5 separate regions of the Homo sapiens genome follow, and regions 2, 3, 4 and 5 are each linked to region 1. Evidence: promoter capture Hi-C in 16 types of primary human blood cells and fetal thymus (Javierre and others, 2016). All regions are on one chromosome and are shown on one strand. The core of a region is centred on a gene start or on the middle of the fragment in contact, and the rest is flanking DNA. Distances in the headings are between cores, read along the strand shown.

Region 1 (2,735 bases), core at 163-2,662:
TAGACTTTGGCTCATTTGGGGTCCAGGGCCCAGTCTCCTGCACGGGTAATAGCTAGGGGTAATCAAGTCTTCGCTACAGAAATGTAGGACAGCGGCGTTGTGACGATATTCCCACCACGCTCCGCGCCGCTCTCCAGCCCCAAGACCCCTCGTTTCCTTCAGGGACCGCCCTTTGGTGCTTCCGCGACGCTGGAAACCGGCAGAGATTCCTACCACCGTATTGCCTGCAGCCTCCAGTCCTTTTTCGGGTTTCTTGTACCCTGAGGCCCTGGTGGGTCTGCCTATCCTCCTTCAGGGCTCGTCCCTTCAAAAAAAATCTGCACGCCTCTCCCCACCATCGGATGACAACTCCAGTTGCCATCGGTGCATCCTGTGTTTACGGAAAGTGGCCCAAGAAAGCCCTCAAAAGTATACCTTAAAGGCCATCTTAGGGCAGTGAAGACACACCCTTTCTGGCACCAGCCCGCCCAGCCGGCTTCGCACTTAGAAGCAGCCAGTTTTTTCTTTGGGGGAGGGCGGCCGCCTCTGCGCGGAGCAAGCTAAGCCCCAGCGTCCCCAGGAGAAGGAGCCCCGAACCCGGAGGCTGCCCCCGCCGGAACCGGGGCCGCGGCGGGAACGGAGGCCCGGGAGGAGGCCCCGGCGGAGCGCCCCAGGGGAAGGGGAGGAGCGCGCCTTTCCTCAGGGCACGGAGGGCGGAGGGAAAAGGAAGGAGAAGGAGGTGACGGCGGTCGCAGGGAGGGGAGCCAGGCTCAGGGATGCCGGCTCAGTCCCGGGGCCGCCCCCGCTGCTGCAAGCCCCCTCCTCCCGGCCCCGAGGCTTCCCAAGCACCGCCTCTCGGAGCCCCCGGCCCGCTCGGCCTCCGGGGCGCGCAGCCCCCGCCCAGGGTCCGCCCACCCCCCTAAGCAATGCCGCGCTCCAGCCCCTCGGCGCTCCCTTCCCCCGCCCCCCGTTACTGCGCTCCCTCCATTTCCAAACTGCGTCGTCTTTTAAGCCGCGCGGCTCTGCCAGCCCACTCCACGCGGCGCCGCTTCCTCCTCCGCCGCCTCCCGCTGGCCGCGGTCGCCCTCCCGACTTCCTCCTCTTCCCCTCGAGGGCTCCCCGAGCCCCCTCCCCGGGCGCGCCGGACACTCACCCCCTTCCCCATGGTGGCGGTGCTCAGTGCCCGGCGCCGGGTCCTGTCGCTGGAGAATCAGAGAGAAAAGCACAGAGCAGCTCCCGGCCGAGCGAGCGGGACCAGGGGAGCCAAGTGGAGGGAGCTAGGGCTGCCGCGGGGCGGGAGGGTGGGAGGGCGGCCGGCGGCTCGGGCCGATGCCGCCGCCGCTGTTGCTGCCGCCGCCCGGGCTGCTACCGCTGTTGCCACGTGTCCGCCTCCTCCCGCCGCTGCTCTGCGCCCCAGACCCCGCCGCAGCTCCAGCCCGCGCCTCCTCCTCACTTCCTAAAATATGCAACCTGCGTGCTGGCCCCGCCCACGCCGCGAAACGTCACCGTTACCGGAGCAACCTGACACCGGCCGTGGGCCTGGCTCCGCCCCCTCCCGAAACCCCGCCCACGGGCCCGGACAGCGCCTGCTGCGGCCAGTCCTGGCTCCCGGCAGGAGGGCGCCCAGGTCTGGGACAAGCGTGTCCACCGTGTCCCGGGAGGGCTGCGGGGCGCTCCTGCTGGCTGAACAGCGGGGACTCGGCGGCCTTGGCCCTCCCACGCCCCTCCTCCCGCTGCCCTGCATGACCCGCCTACTATGTAGGGCCCAGGAGGTCCGCAGTGGGTGCGGTACGGTCTCGGAACTGGGCTCCCCCAGTCGCCGCCGACCCGGCACCAGAAGTCGTGGGCGGAACGGCTTTTCCAGCGCTTCGGCGATCTCCTCTGGGACTCAGGGATGCTGGAGGGGGCTGGCGCTCGGGTGTGATTGCAGCCAGCGCCTGACTGAGGGACTCCGCCCCTCTGTGGAATCCAGGCCCCGCGCCCACCTGCGGATGGCCTCCCCGGGCGCTTGGTGCTCTCAGAGTGCCTCCTGTGACTTGGGGTCCTCTTTATCCACTTCCCGCTCCGTCATAGCTGGAATCGATCTGAACTGGCATCGCCAGAAGTTTCAAGCGCCCTCCTCCCACCACCTCTCTTTCTTCGAGATTCCAAAATGAGAATCTGAAGGGCGACCAGCGAATTCATTCACGCTATTGTGTGAATGTAACCTGCTTGTCCAGTTTGGGGATTCTCTTTTTAGGGAAGAAAAACCTGAAACCCAAAGGAATGCGTATCCTTAGCTAGAGGAGCTAAATCAAGGGGGAGGCGTTTGAGGACTTGCCAGGTGCCTCTCCACGCCTCCACCTGTCACGGCAGCATCTCCAGCACAGCCTTGGGTTCTCTGGGGGGGCCCAGGAAACCACCACTCTCCCCGGAGATCCCTGGTTCCACTGCACTTTGGGGCTTCTCTGTCATTATAGCTTTTGCTTCTTAGCAAGAGGCTGCAATGGCTGAAGTTCTCCAACATTTTAAAAAACAAAGTATTATTAACAAGGTTTGCAGGAAGTCAAGTACTCTGGGAAAGGCCAGGATATTGACTTTCTAAGCAAAGGTTCCTAAGTTAAAGCCAACTCTATCAACTTCAAGTATTCATGTAGCATGAACAAACAAGGATATGAAACTGGAAAAAATGGAGAAGGAAGGAAAGAAAGGAAAAACTAGAAACTGTGTTGTCAGTTACATCATTAGGGTAATTCTCATCCCTTCTTACAAGATAG
Region 2 (2,700 bases), core at 17-2,516, 640 kb before region 1:
AAGGGGGTGATAGATATTCCAGACAAAGGGACAAAGTGACAATTGCAAGGACTATCACCCTTTCCCAATGTGTAAATATGCTAGAGAATGGTAGTTTGAGAATTATCATTTCTAAGTTAATGACTTATCACCTATGGTACCAGCTTTCTTGTCAAATTACTGTTCTGCCTGCAAGCAGAGACAACACAGGGAGAACTCTCACAGCTTTGTTGAATGCTGTTGCTACTAGCAACCTATGGAGAGCTGCGGACAAGGCCTTGGGAAAACCACACACCATCTAAATATTTATGGCAAAGATAATTGAGAAAAAGAAACAGATAATTTTAGAGAATATGAGATACCCACTTGTGACATATCTCCAAAATATCCACAGGGGTACATGGGCTCTTTTCCCAAAGAAAATGGAACAATATAAAGCCATGTCATATTGCAAGATATTGTCATGGTGGAGACTCTGGCTTCTCAGGGGCTGGCTAGCAGAAGTGGACAAGCAACTTACCAATTAGATTAGTCTTTGCACTGTAACTTCCATAGTATTTCTCATCAGTGTTTGGTGTGTGACACTCATACTCGCCAGCATCCTTCATCTGGAGTTTTGAGATGTGCAACAAGACTGAGTTGCCCTGGACCCTCTCCACGTAGACGTCTCCGCTTCGCACCCGCTGCGTATATACTGCGTAAGAGAAGGCAGCATCCTTGGTGCTAATGATCTGGACTTCCTGGGTCGGGTTTGTCGGCAGGTAAACAGACCACTGGAAATGCTGCTCAGAAGGTCCCTGGTGGCCAGTTACATTGCAGCCAATGCTGACTGGGTAACCTTCAGCTCTAAACAGTGGTCCTTTCTGAACTGTTACTTCTCTCTGGCCAATGCTGAGCTTAGCTTGTAAGTAGGAGAAAGAAAGGGGAATAAAAAGAGATTAGTGTTCCAGTTCCCAGTGTACCACGTTATGTATTTCCCTGTATTACAATTCTGGTAAATGAGATCGCAAGTTATTAGCTATAATTGACTCAAATGTTCAACATCTTCTTCAGGCTGAGCAGCAGTGGAATTGCTTGATGAGTTAATTGTTCTTTTATAACTTTAACTTCCATAGTAATCTTCAGTCTCTTAAAAAAATTTAGCTTCATCAATGTAACACGACCACTTCTATAAAACATCTGCTTATCGAAGTGTACTTATTTTAAAGCAAATAAATGTATGGTAACTTTACATTATTTTCTGAGAAAATTTGGCATATACTTCCTCAAGTCTCAAATTCCAGGGTGCCTGCCATCGGGCAGTTCCCAGAGAAGTAGTTGCTGGAGACGCAAAGTCTAGGGCTCTGCCCTTGGTGCCATGATTTTTCTAGCTGGTTGGTTGGAACTATCTGTAGCTCCTAGCCAGGTCTGTTGCAAGACTAGCCAACATTAGCATCTGACGAGGCAGCAGCACTTCCTTTCTATTCTGTGGAGGTTTTTTTGGTTTTGTTTTGTCATTTCTTAAAGAGCCACTATAGCTTTACTGAAAAGCCTCCTAATAGATGGCTAGAAAATCCAGCAGGTTCTGGGATTAGAATTTATTTTAGCTTTTTTCTTACCAAAAGTTTTCCATTGGGACCACTAGGGAATGTTTTCTATTAGAACAAATCTGAAGTATTAGGTCTAAAGGAAAAAGCATGATTAAATGGTAATATTTCATTTGACAAATTTTTTAAATCAAGCATTTTTCAGAAATCAAAAAGCATATCTTTACTTACTATGATTGATATTAAAGGCTAGTTCATTTTGTGTTGCAGAAAGAACAAAGACATGCCACAAGAGTGGTCAGTTCTTCCACTAGGGGCCCAGGGTACTGTAAAAGGGAAGACAGGGTTGGAAGACACCAGAAGGGCCAGACAGGGAGAGATTGCTGGCCTTATGGAGTTAACCGAACAGAGTTCATACGAAGATGAGTAAGAAGCAGAGCCTCTGCTGCATTTTGTGACTCCACAGGGACAAAGAGTAAGGAGACCAGAGTGGAAAAAAAAAGTGAGGGAAAGGAAAAAGGACATTACAGAGAACATGATAAGGCTGAGTATAGGAATCTGGGATGAAATGAAAATAATTCTAAGGGATAGGAGGGAACTACAAAAAAGGGCAAAAGCACAGAAAAGGTAAGTGGTCACCTGATGCAGTCAAGTGCATATATTTCATATATGTATGTTCAGTCTAAAACTGGGAAACCAACCAATGCCCAACCAACTAGTCAGCCAACCACACACATTTCTAGTAATAATTTTTTTTTTTTTGACACGGTCTTGCTCTGTCACCCAGGCTGGAGTGTTGTGGTGCAATCTTGGCTCACTGCAACCTCTGCCTCCCAGGTTCAAGTGATTCTCTTGCCTCAGCCTCCTGAGTAGCTAGGATTACAGGCATGGGCCACCACGCCTGGATAAGTTTTATATTTTTAGTAGAGACGGGGTTTCACCATGTTGGCCAGGCTGGTCTCGAACTCCTGACCTCAAGTGATCTGCTTGCCTCAGCCTCCCAAAGTGCTGGAATTACAGGTGTGAGCCACTGCGCTCAGCCTCTATAATAATTTAGAATACACTAATTTATTCATAAGTCCAAATTAATGTGACATATTTATATCATGCTTTTTTTGTAATAAGAATCTAGGAATACAAGTTAGACCACCTTAGAAAAATGTAAATTATTACTTACCAACAAGTTATACTACAG
Region 3 (2,700 bases), core at 100-2,599, 700 kb before region 1:
TAACCTTTTCTCTCAGAGGTTCTGATTCTCTTTGGACATCTTGACTCTTACCACTTGATTTCTCCTGAGAAGATGCAGATGGTCTTGTAAGCTCATTACCTTGGCACTGTTGAGATTTAATTTCAGAAAAGTCTCTTTTGTGTGTGCCTCCAGTCTCTGCCTCACACTGAATCTCTGCTCCCTCTTCTTGCTTCTTCTCTTGAACTACAGATTGTTTTTTCTTTGGTACCAGGCCAGATGAGAGGTCTTTCTCCATCATTTCAGGCTTCTGTTCTTTCTTTTGATCGAAAAGCTGATCTCCCTTTTCTCTTTGCTTCTTATCAGCCTTCTTTTCCTCACCTTCACCTTTGATGAGCTGTTTCCAGAGAGCTGGTTCTTGATTCTTGTCAAGTACCTTGAATGGATTTCTCAGCCAGTTGGAAGAATGATGAAATGTCTCAGATGCATGCTGAGACTTATTGGATACAGAATGTTCTTTGGAATCAGGATCCTAAAGACAAAATAATTAATCTTCATATAAAATATTAATACAAACTTCGTATCTAGAATGCCTTTCCTTTTCATCTCAACTTTTATTTTATATACAGGGGGTACATATGCAGCTTTGTTATATGAGTATATTGCACTCAGGCAGTGAGCATAGTGCCCAATAGATAGTTTCTTAACCCATGCCCTCCTCCCCTCTCCAGTAGTTCACAGTATCTATTGTTCCCATGTTTATGGGTGCTCAATGTTTAGCTCCTGCTCGTGAGAACATATGATATTTGGTTTTCTGTTCCTGCATTAATTCACTTAGGATTATTCTGCAGAAGAAATGGAAACACAGTAAAAGCAGTCCAATATTTCCTGAACATTCTTGGTACCATTTCCACGTCTAGAAAAGATGACGTGCCAAACCCACAAAGGACTCATTTCTTCACGATACTTTCGAAGCTTGGTTCCTTCTCTGTCCATGATCACTCTTTTCCAGGCCTCAAGGAAAAGTAGTGACAAACCAAAGTGCTTTTACAATCACAATGGCCACAGTGTATACTTTTCAGGAAAAAAACTATTCTCTTAAGATGAACTTTTCCCCAAACCTAAACATTGTCTTAAAACACTTGCTTTGATTTTGGCTTTAGGAGGATTTTACTGTGGTAATCTAGAATCGTAAGTTCAAGCCACACCTCTGCCAAAACAAGTCTTATCACCTCCCTACTTCTAGTTCCTCACGTACTGAATATCTGTAGGGCTTCTCCTATTAGGAGATGCTCCTCCTAGTTCTAACATACTAGGAGCTTATGCTTATACTTAGCTTATACCAGTATCAAGTAGAAATTCCTCTATAAAAAGATACAAGAGTTAGTCAAGGAAATCTATTTTTTTCCTTGAGTAAAAGAATACTGACTACATTTAAGACCTCAAAAAATATTTACTAAGTGAAATAGGATGCAAATAATTAATCTTGATTACGACTAAATGATCCTTTGAATAAAAGTCCCAACAGGGCCTACCTTGCTTAAAGAAAACTATCTTTCGGAGACAGTCTGATGAAGACCAACTCATTTACGTGAACTTCAAGGTATTTTCAGGTGATGCTGCATATTAAAAGTCTTAACACAGCAGGTTTGAAAACAGATGAATAATTCCTACCTGCCATGGAATACTTCCACACCAGCGTTTCCCCTCTGCCTTACTTCTAATGCATCGGAAGAACAATCTAATGAAGTATAAAACACAAATAATCAAGGCTATGAAAATCCATTAGAACAAGAGATAAGCTTATTTTTAATCCAAGAAAACATCTTGCAACTATTTGAACCTGGCTTTGGGAGGTCACTTGAAACCAATTACTTTTATATACACATTTAAAAATTATTTACTGCACAGAACATTTATAAGGGCTAGGAAGTCCAAGAATAAATATGGCATGGTAGCCAGAGAATGCACACAGGTTTATTCTTTTTAGTCTGTAACGAATGACTGAAATAGAAACACTGATCAGCAATGGCTACTAAAATCAGAGAAATGAGAGACAGCCAGACACTGTGTGTCCCTGAAGGGGGGTCACAACACTAGCTACAAAGCAATGTTGCCCCAAAAAAAACCCCAAAACAACGAAGCCAAAACAAACAAAAAACTAACCTCTAGATCCAATTACCAATTTATAGGAAATAGAAACAACAGAAGAAGGCGTAAAACTATACTGTGGAGAATATAACCTTCAAAATCTTGGCAGTGGGAAACGCTATAGGACAAACAACCTGATCCCTTCCACAAATAAGTTACGAGGGAGAAAAAAAGATGAAGGGAAAACTTCAGAGACTTAAAAGACATATTAATCAATTCCAATTTGTGAACCTTATTTGGATCCTGATTTAAACAAATTAAAACTACTAAAAAAAAACTATGACATTTATGAGTCCACTGAAAATATGTAAACCAACTGGTATGTTAAAAGAGTGCAGCTGGATGCAGTGGCACACACCTATAGTCCCCTCTACTCAGGGGCCTGAGACAGGAGGATCATTTGAGGCCAGAGGCTGCAATGTGCTAAGATTGTGCCTGTGAATAGCCACTGCACTCAAACCTGGGCAACACAGCAAGACTCCCTTCTCTAAAACATACAAATATTTTTTAAAAAATAGTTCATATCTTGGCCGGGTGCGGTGGCTCACACCTGTAATCCCAGCACTTCGGGAGGCTGAGGTGGGCGGATCA
Region 4 (2,700 bases), core at 92-2,591, 730 kb after region 1:
AAAAAGCTATACTACTGGCTCGCATGGCAGTCCCACTCAGGGGCAGAGTTCGTATGCCAGACACACTGAGTAAAAATCAGCAGCAGCCTCTTTCAGCCACTGCCCAAGAGCATCTTGCCTCACCGGTCACCCACCCCTTAAGAGTGTATTGCTTGGCACTGCTTGGGTAGGGGCTGGAGGCAAATATTAGGACACGGCCAGGCTCATTGAACCACATTGCATGCAGGCAAGGTCAACAATGGGAGATAGGTGCACAGAGTGCTTCTAAGTGGCAGTGTCCTAAATTCTGGACTTCCTAGGCAAAAATGTCAGAAAGAACCTCCTTCACCACCCTTTATCAAAAGCAAAATGAAGATAATCAGCCTCAAACAGAATTCTCTCCTAAAGTCATGTTCACTCATATAAAAATCCTACTACTTAATATGAAAACACAGTGTTTAGCAAATCGTATGAAGGAAATAATATGTTATGATAATGACAGTGGTAAACATAAGCTAACCTTCGCAAAAAGGAAATTATAAAAACATCAACAGCTCTGCCTAGAGCTATTAAGTAATTAAGGGAGCTCTGGTTTGGAAAGTTACTTTGTAAGGGTTACAGAGACACGCACTGAATTTAAAGAGAGATTTTGCTTCCTATGCAGTAAGTAGATCTATTTCCAAGGAAAAGTGGTGTCTGGTACAACCATGCTTATATATGCTGTGTATATTATTCTGAATATTTGATTTTTACATAGAATTCTGCAGAGATTATGCTATTAATTATTATTTATATTATGTCTTGAAGCTAACATTCTTCTTAGGGGTACCCATTCTTAATTAAATGGCACTCAAGGGGAAAGTGACAATTGAAATAATTTTGTTTAGAGTCAACTATTCTTCTAGAGAGTAGCAATGAGCCCAAATTGTGGGTGAAGAGCATTCAAATCCTGGCTCTAGTACTTAGCTGTGTGACCTCAGAACAAGTTACTTAACTGCTCTCTGCCTCAGTTTCCCTAACTGTAACAACAGATTTTATTTTACTTATATTATAGATCTGTGGTAGGTATTAAATGAGATAATTCATAAAAATTATTAGAACAGTGCCTAGCACGTGGTAGGCACTCACAGCTGTCAACTACTACTAGTATTCACTAGAGTAAAATTCCTTCAGTTAGGAAGAACTGAAGGGGTTGTATGGCATATAACTTCTGTATCATTTTCACTGAACTTATACACATTTTTCTGGTCTCTGCTACCACCTTTAACTGCTACTATTAGCTATAGCTGAGTAACAAGTGATTTCTATTCTGTTTCTTACAGGCCTCTATTTACCATCCCCAGGTTGGAAGCAAATGTCAGAGAGACCAGAGGAAACCGTGTGTGTTTTAGTGGGTTTATTTGGAGGGGCATGGGCTGGAAAGGAGCGGGCAGAGATGCAGGGCAAATCTATAAAACATTTTGAACTTGTGGCCTATAAACCACCAAACATCATGCAGGTCACTGATGTGAGGATCTGCTGGGCTTATGGCATTTGTGACAAACCCAATGATTCTTTTATTACAACAGCTTATAAATGAATGATTCTGGGTCATTATTTACAAGGAAAGAAAATGTCAACTTTGTTTTACTTGTTTCGCCAATGATTTCAACTCACCTTGCCAGAATAACTTCTCTTGGCTCCAGTCATTAATTACCCCTGAAACACCTCCAGCAGCTGGGTACAGATTTCTGAAGAGGTGTGAATCGTTAACATGTCTGGAGTTATGTGATGTATATTTGCTTGCAAGTGACTCCCTTGTTCCCTGCCAGATATTTAAACTTCAGAAAAATAGATCTCATGAGTACTATCTCCTCTGTAAATCTGATGGTACAGAGTCTGATCACTGTTGTCCTGTAACTGGGATTCAGAAGGACACTGCTAGAGACAACAGCACACACATGTATCCTTGCATCAAACTTCAATACTGCTAACATCAAACCAATACTGCTAACACCAAACCAATATTGCTAACAGAAACATGGTCCAATCACAAGCCCACCTAATCTTTTCCATCTTAAGGAAAATAGAATAGCATGATGCCCAAATCACATGCCCTATACAGCGAGACCCTAACCAGCTAGCTGATTTTACAGAGATGATGGTAATAGTCTAACAGTTTCTAGTTGTCAAGTGTTTACTATGTGTTAGATGCTGTTTTAAGTCACTTACATGTAATATCTCACTTAATCCGCATAACAAGTGTTTAAGAAAAATAAGACATTAATATCATGTTAGTTAGGGAAACCAGACTGCCACAGGAGCCAGGGCTTAAACGTTGAGAGTCTAACTCCAGAACCTGTGTTCTTAGCTACAGAAAATTGACAGCACTGTAGCAATTACTAGAATTGTTTGTTTATATAGAGGAGTATAAGCAACAATCACAAATTGTCCCAAACCACATATAACCCCACTAAGAATTTTGCAATTTCAACTTCTACTCACAGGTTCAGTGTTCCAAGCATCGTGGGGCACTCAGGAGAAAAGAAATGGATCTAAAATAGTTCTAACTCCCAATGAGCTCACAGCCCCAATGTGGAGACCTCCAATTAAAACACAATGTGACAAGGGCCCATCCCACCAAAATAGCTGATAAGGCCTAGGGTAGCAAGCACAGTGTGTGTATATAAGTGTGTTAAGGGGATGATGAAGGGGAGGATGCCTTCTTCATTCAACACATTT
Region 5 (2,700 bases), core at 9-2,508, 720 kb before region 1:
CTTTCAAGAGCCTCTAAGGGCCCCAGAGTTCACCCCCAGAATGCTGGAGAAGGAAGAAAACTGGGCTGTAAGTCAATCAGGAGACAAATATACAGAAGTTCTTCCTCTGTCCTCATATGGCTGGACCACTTTGGGACTCAGATTCCTCATCAGTGAAAAGAAGGACTTAGGCCAGATAAATTCTGAGGTGCCCTGAGCTCCCACATTCTAGGATGTCATTACAGTGGTCACCACATGGGGCTGCTTTCCAATCTTAACAAACATTCTGGTGCCTAGGCAGGAAGTGAGTCACAGAACTGTACCATTCAAATTAGCAGACAGAAAAGCAGCTACATCTGTTATTTAGTTAACAATAGAACAGAGACACTGATGTGCCTGGTGTCTTGGCAACTTGAGATTGTGGAAGGCGCTGTGACTCCCACATGAAAAAGCTAGCCATGGTGTTTTGAGAAAACTGCAGCAGGAGGGCTGGATTTATGGCCCACGAGCCGGGGTCAAATTCCAGTAAGAAGCCTCCTTCCCTACTTGAAACAACCGTATGTGGTTTGAACTATTAATGGACATATGTTAAGAAAACTTGTGAATAAATATTACCTGCATTTAATTAAACAAGGAACACAAATGATTAGGAATTTAAATTTTAGCCCAATAGCTCACTCTGAAGGCACTAGCATGTGTGTTCTGGCCACATGGGATGCTCTTCTTATGTTTCTCTCAGCTATCAGTGGTAAAGACCTAGGTAAATGTTTTCAAATTTTAATTAAAAGGCAGCATTCCTTTTAAAAAATAATGCCATTCCCCTGGAAGTGACCTTTCTAGTTATTAATACACTTTTTCAAAAAAAGCCTTTGAAGAGAGGTTGAGCCCAAGAACGGCAGCTTGAGATGCTAAGAGAGAAACAAGCCTCACTTTCAAGACAGGCAGGATGATGAAGCACATTCCGAGCCAGCAGACAGGCAGGATTCAGGTTACGGCATATCTAAGCCTTCCTCCAGCAGAATGTTTCTGCCTTAAAAAGCTCTGACGAAAACAGAGCAGAATGACTAATGAAGACAGAAGGCTATGTAGGAAACACTACTCACATGTGGAAGCCTTTCAAAGTCAGAGCAATTGGCGCTCGCATGTATGACACAGTCTCTAGAGTCAAGCCTTTGTTTTCCTTTTAAGCTTTCTCTAAACAAATTGCTCACTTGCATAGGCCCCGTCCCTAGCACAAACCTGGCAAGCTCCCCAGTGACCCATGACAGAAAACCCACTTCAGTGCAATGCTGGGGTTGTCCCAAATTACTCTCTCAAAGTCCCCTATGTAGTAAGGCTTTAGTGTTATCTGTGAAATAAATGAAGCTTTAAGACTGGAGGGAGAATCTGATCAGCTAGAATTTAACGGCTCTAGCTCTGCTGGCAAATGGCTGTTCCCACTTGGACAAATGAAGTGCTGTCACACAGGAAAATGTGTGAGGAATCGAAGTCTCTCGACTACTACAGAGGAGACAAAAAGTACCTTGGTGCTCTCTCGCATGCCTTCAAAAAGCTCCATCTTGAAGAAGGTGCCGTTAAGGGAAACAGTGGAAGATGGCTCTGAGTCACGGAGTTCTGACAAGGTCAAAGCACTGAGCTGTTCTTCCAGGGAAAGGACAAGACCTTCACCCTTCAGTTCCATTGGATCCAGGGCCTGAACAGACAAAAAAGGACAGGAGCAGCTGGGAGTCAAGGGAGCAAACCTTGTTACTTGTTGATGATGTTTTGATTGTTTACCACTTCACAGAGCAAAATATCTTGTAATTTGTCATCAGTAACTCCTCAAGACACCTTGATTAAAGTGTGATCTTGCAAGTTTTTTCACCACATTAAAGATAAACCAAATGATGGAACTTTTTAAAGACTTGCCAGGCAGATGACATAATCATTCTATTTTTTCCAAGCTAGAATATAATTGAGATGTTGATAATCAGAATACATTATTACAGCTCCTTAAATGAATAGAATACTCCTCTTAATTTTGGATGTGCCTCTATCCAAGGTAGGGGCAACTTTTCAGTCTGTATAACTATCTGAGTTTTTATAACTGGAACCCAAAACCCCAAAACTGCCTGAAAGCAGAAAACCCCAAGAACTAAATTAGCTTTATGACATTCTGAAGTACCAGAGCATTCACAAATGGCTTCTTTTTAAACAAAATATCATTTTCTTTTCTTAAACAGTTAATCTAAAACAAAATAAACAATAGAAATACACTATTCTTGATGCCATAGGAATTATCAAGATTAATATGAAATAAAGCAAAATAAATAAGCCCCCTTTTCTCCAACCCACCAAAAAACAAAAATAGAAAAACCGAAACAGCATTTCCTTTGATCAAGCAGACTGGATTCCAGTTGGAGGAGAGTGAAATTGACTTCTCAGGTGGCCCCTCTGGAGCACTATATGACAGCAGGCTGAGGGCTTTTCTTACCGACTTCAGTAAAGAAAGATGACAGCAACACTGGCGGAGTCTCAGCAACTGGGACAGTATGTGGACGGTGCTGGATCTCGGTGAGTCTGCTGCCTCCGAGTGTCTAGGCTCCTCAGACCCAAACTCCAGTGCCACTTCCAAGAGGGAAGACAAGCCACAGGATGGTACAGGATTTAAAAGAGAAATACGGAGAGAGCCAGGAACTACATGGGGCTACTTTAACCATGTTTGATCTCAGACTCAATAAT

Evidence for each region. Contacts are between HindIII fragments. The CHiCAGO score rates a contact against its expected background, and 5 or more counts as called.
Region 2: a fragment that was not itself captured here is called in contact with the fragment with the promoter of ATP1A1 in region 1 in 2 of 17 cell types (activated CD4 T cells and non-activated CD4 T cells); the score reaches 6.6 in activated CD4 T cells.
Region 3: a contact is called between a fragment that was not itself captured here and the fragment with the promoter of ATP1A1 in region 1, in 2 of 17 cell types (activated CD4 T cells and naive B cells). The highest score is 5.8, in activated CD4 T cells.
Region 4: a contact is called between a fragment that was not itself captured here and the fragment with the promoter of ATP1A1 in region 1, in 1 of 17 cell types (fetal thymus). The highest score is 5.2, in fetal thymus.
Region 5: a contact is called between a fragment that was not itself captured here and the fragment with the promoter of ATP1A1 in region 1, in 1 of 17 cell types (activated CD4 T cells). The highest score is 6.6, in activated CD4 T cells.

What each region holds. Positions count from the first base shown.
Region 1 is chr1:116,371,921-116,374,655 of GRCh38, reverse strand. It overlaps ATP1A1 (ATPase Na+/K+ transporting subunit alpha 1), which reads right to left and starts at 1,412. Exons shown (of 23, transcript NM_000701.8): 1 at 1,133-1,412. The coding sequence starts at 1,144. RefSeq lists an enhancer at 36-155 and silencers at 526-825, 1,256-1,785. The HindIII fragment of the contact is 4,966 bases long and covers 1-2,735 here.
Region 2 is chr1:117,008,030-117,010,729 of GRCh38, reverse strand. CD101 (CD101 molecule) reads right to left here. Exons shown (of 10, transcript NM_001256106.3): 2 at 500-880. Among named protein-coding and RNA genes, the nearest start is that of CD101, 7.6 kb to the right of the region's middle. The HindIII fragment of the contact is 3,067 bases long and covers 1-2,700 here.
Region 3 is chr1:117,072,660-117,075,359 of GRCh38, reverse strand. It overlaps TTF2 (transcription termination factor 2), which reads right to left. Exons shown (of 23, transcript NM_003594.4): 4 at 1,633-1,699; 5 at 1-490. Among named protein-coding and RNA genes, the nearest start is that of TTF2, 14 kb to the right of the region's middle. The HindIII fragment of the contact is 827 bases long and covers 936-1,762 here.
Region 4 is chr1:115,643,799-115,646,498 of GRCh38, reverse strand. All of the region lies in intron 1 of VANGL1 (VANGL planar cell polarity protein 1), which reads right to left. Among named protein-coding and RNA genes, the nearest start is that of VANGL1, 3.2 kb to the right of the region's middle. The HindIII fragment of the contact is 4,549 bases long and covers 1-2,700 here.
Region 5 is chr1:117,091,703-117,094,402 of GRCh38, reverse strand. TTF2 (transcription termination factor 2) reads right to left here. Exons shown (of 23, transcript NM_003594.4): 17 at 2,453-2,586; 18 at 1,502-1,672. Among named protein-coding and RNA genes, the nearest start is that of MIR942, 1.6 kb to the left of the region's middle. The HindIII fragment of the contact is 177 bases long and covers 1,170-1,346 here.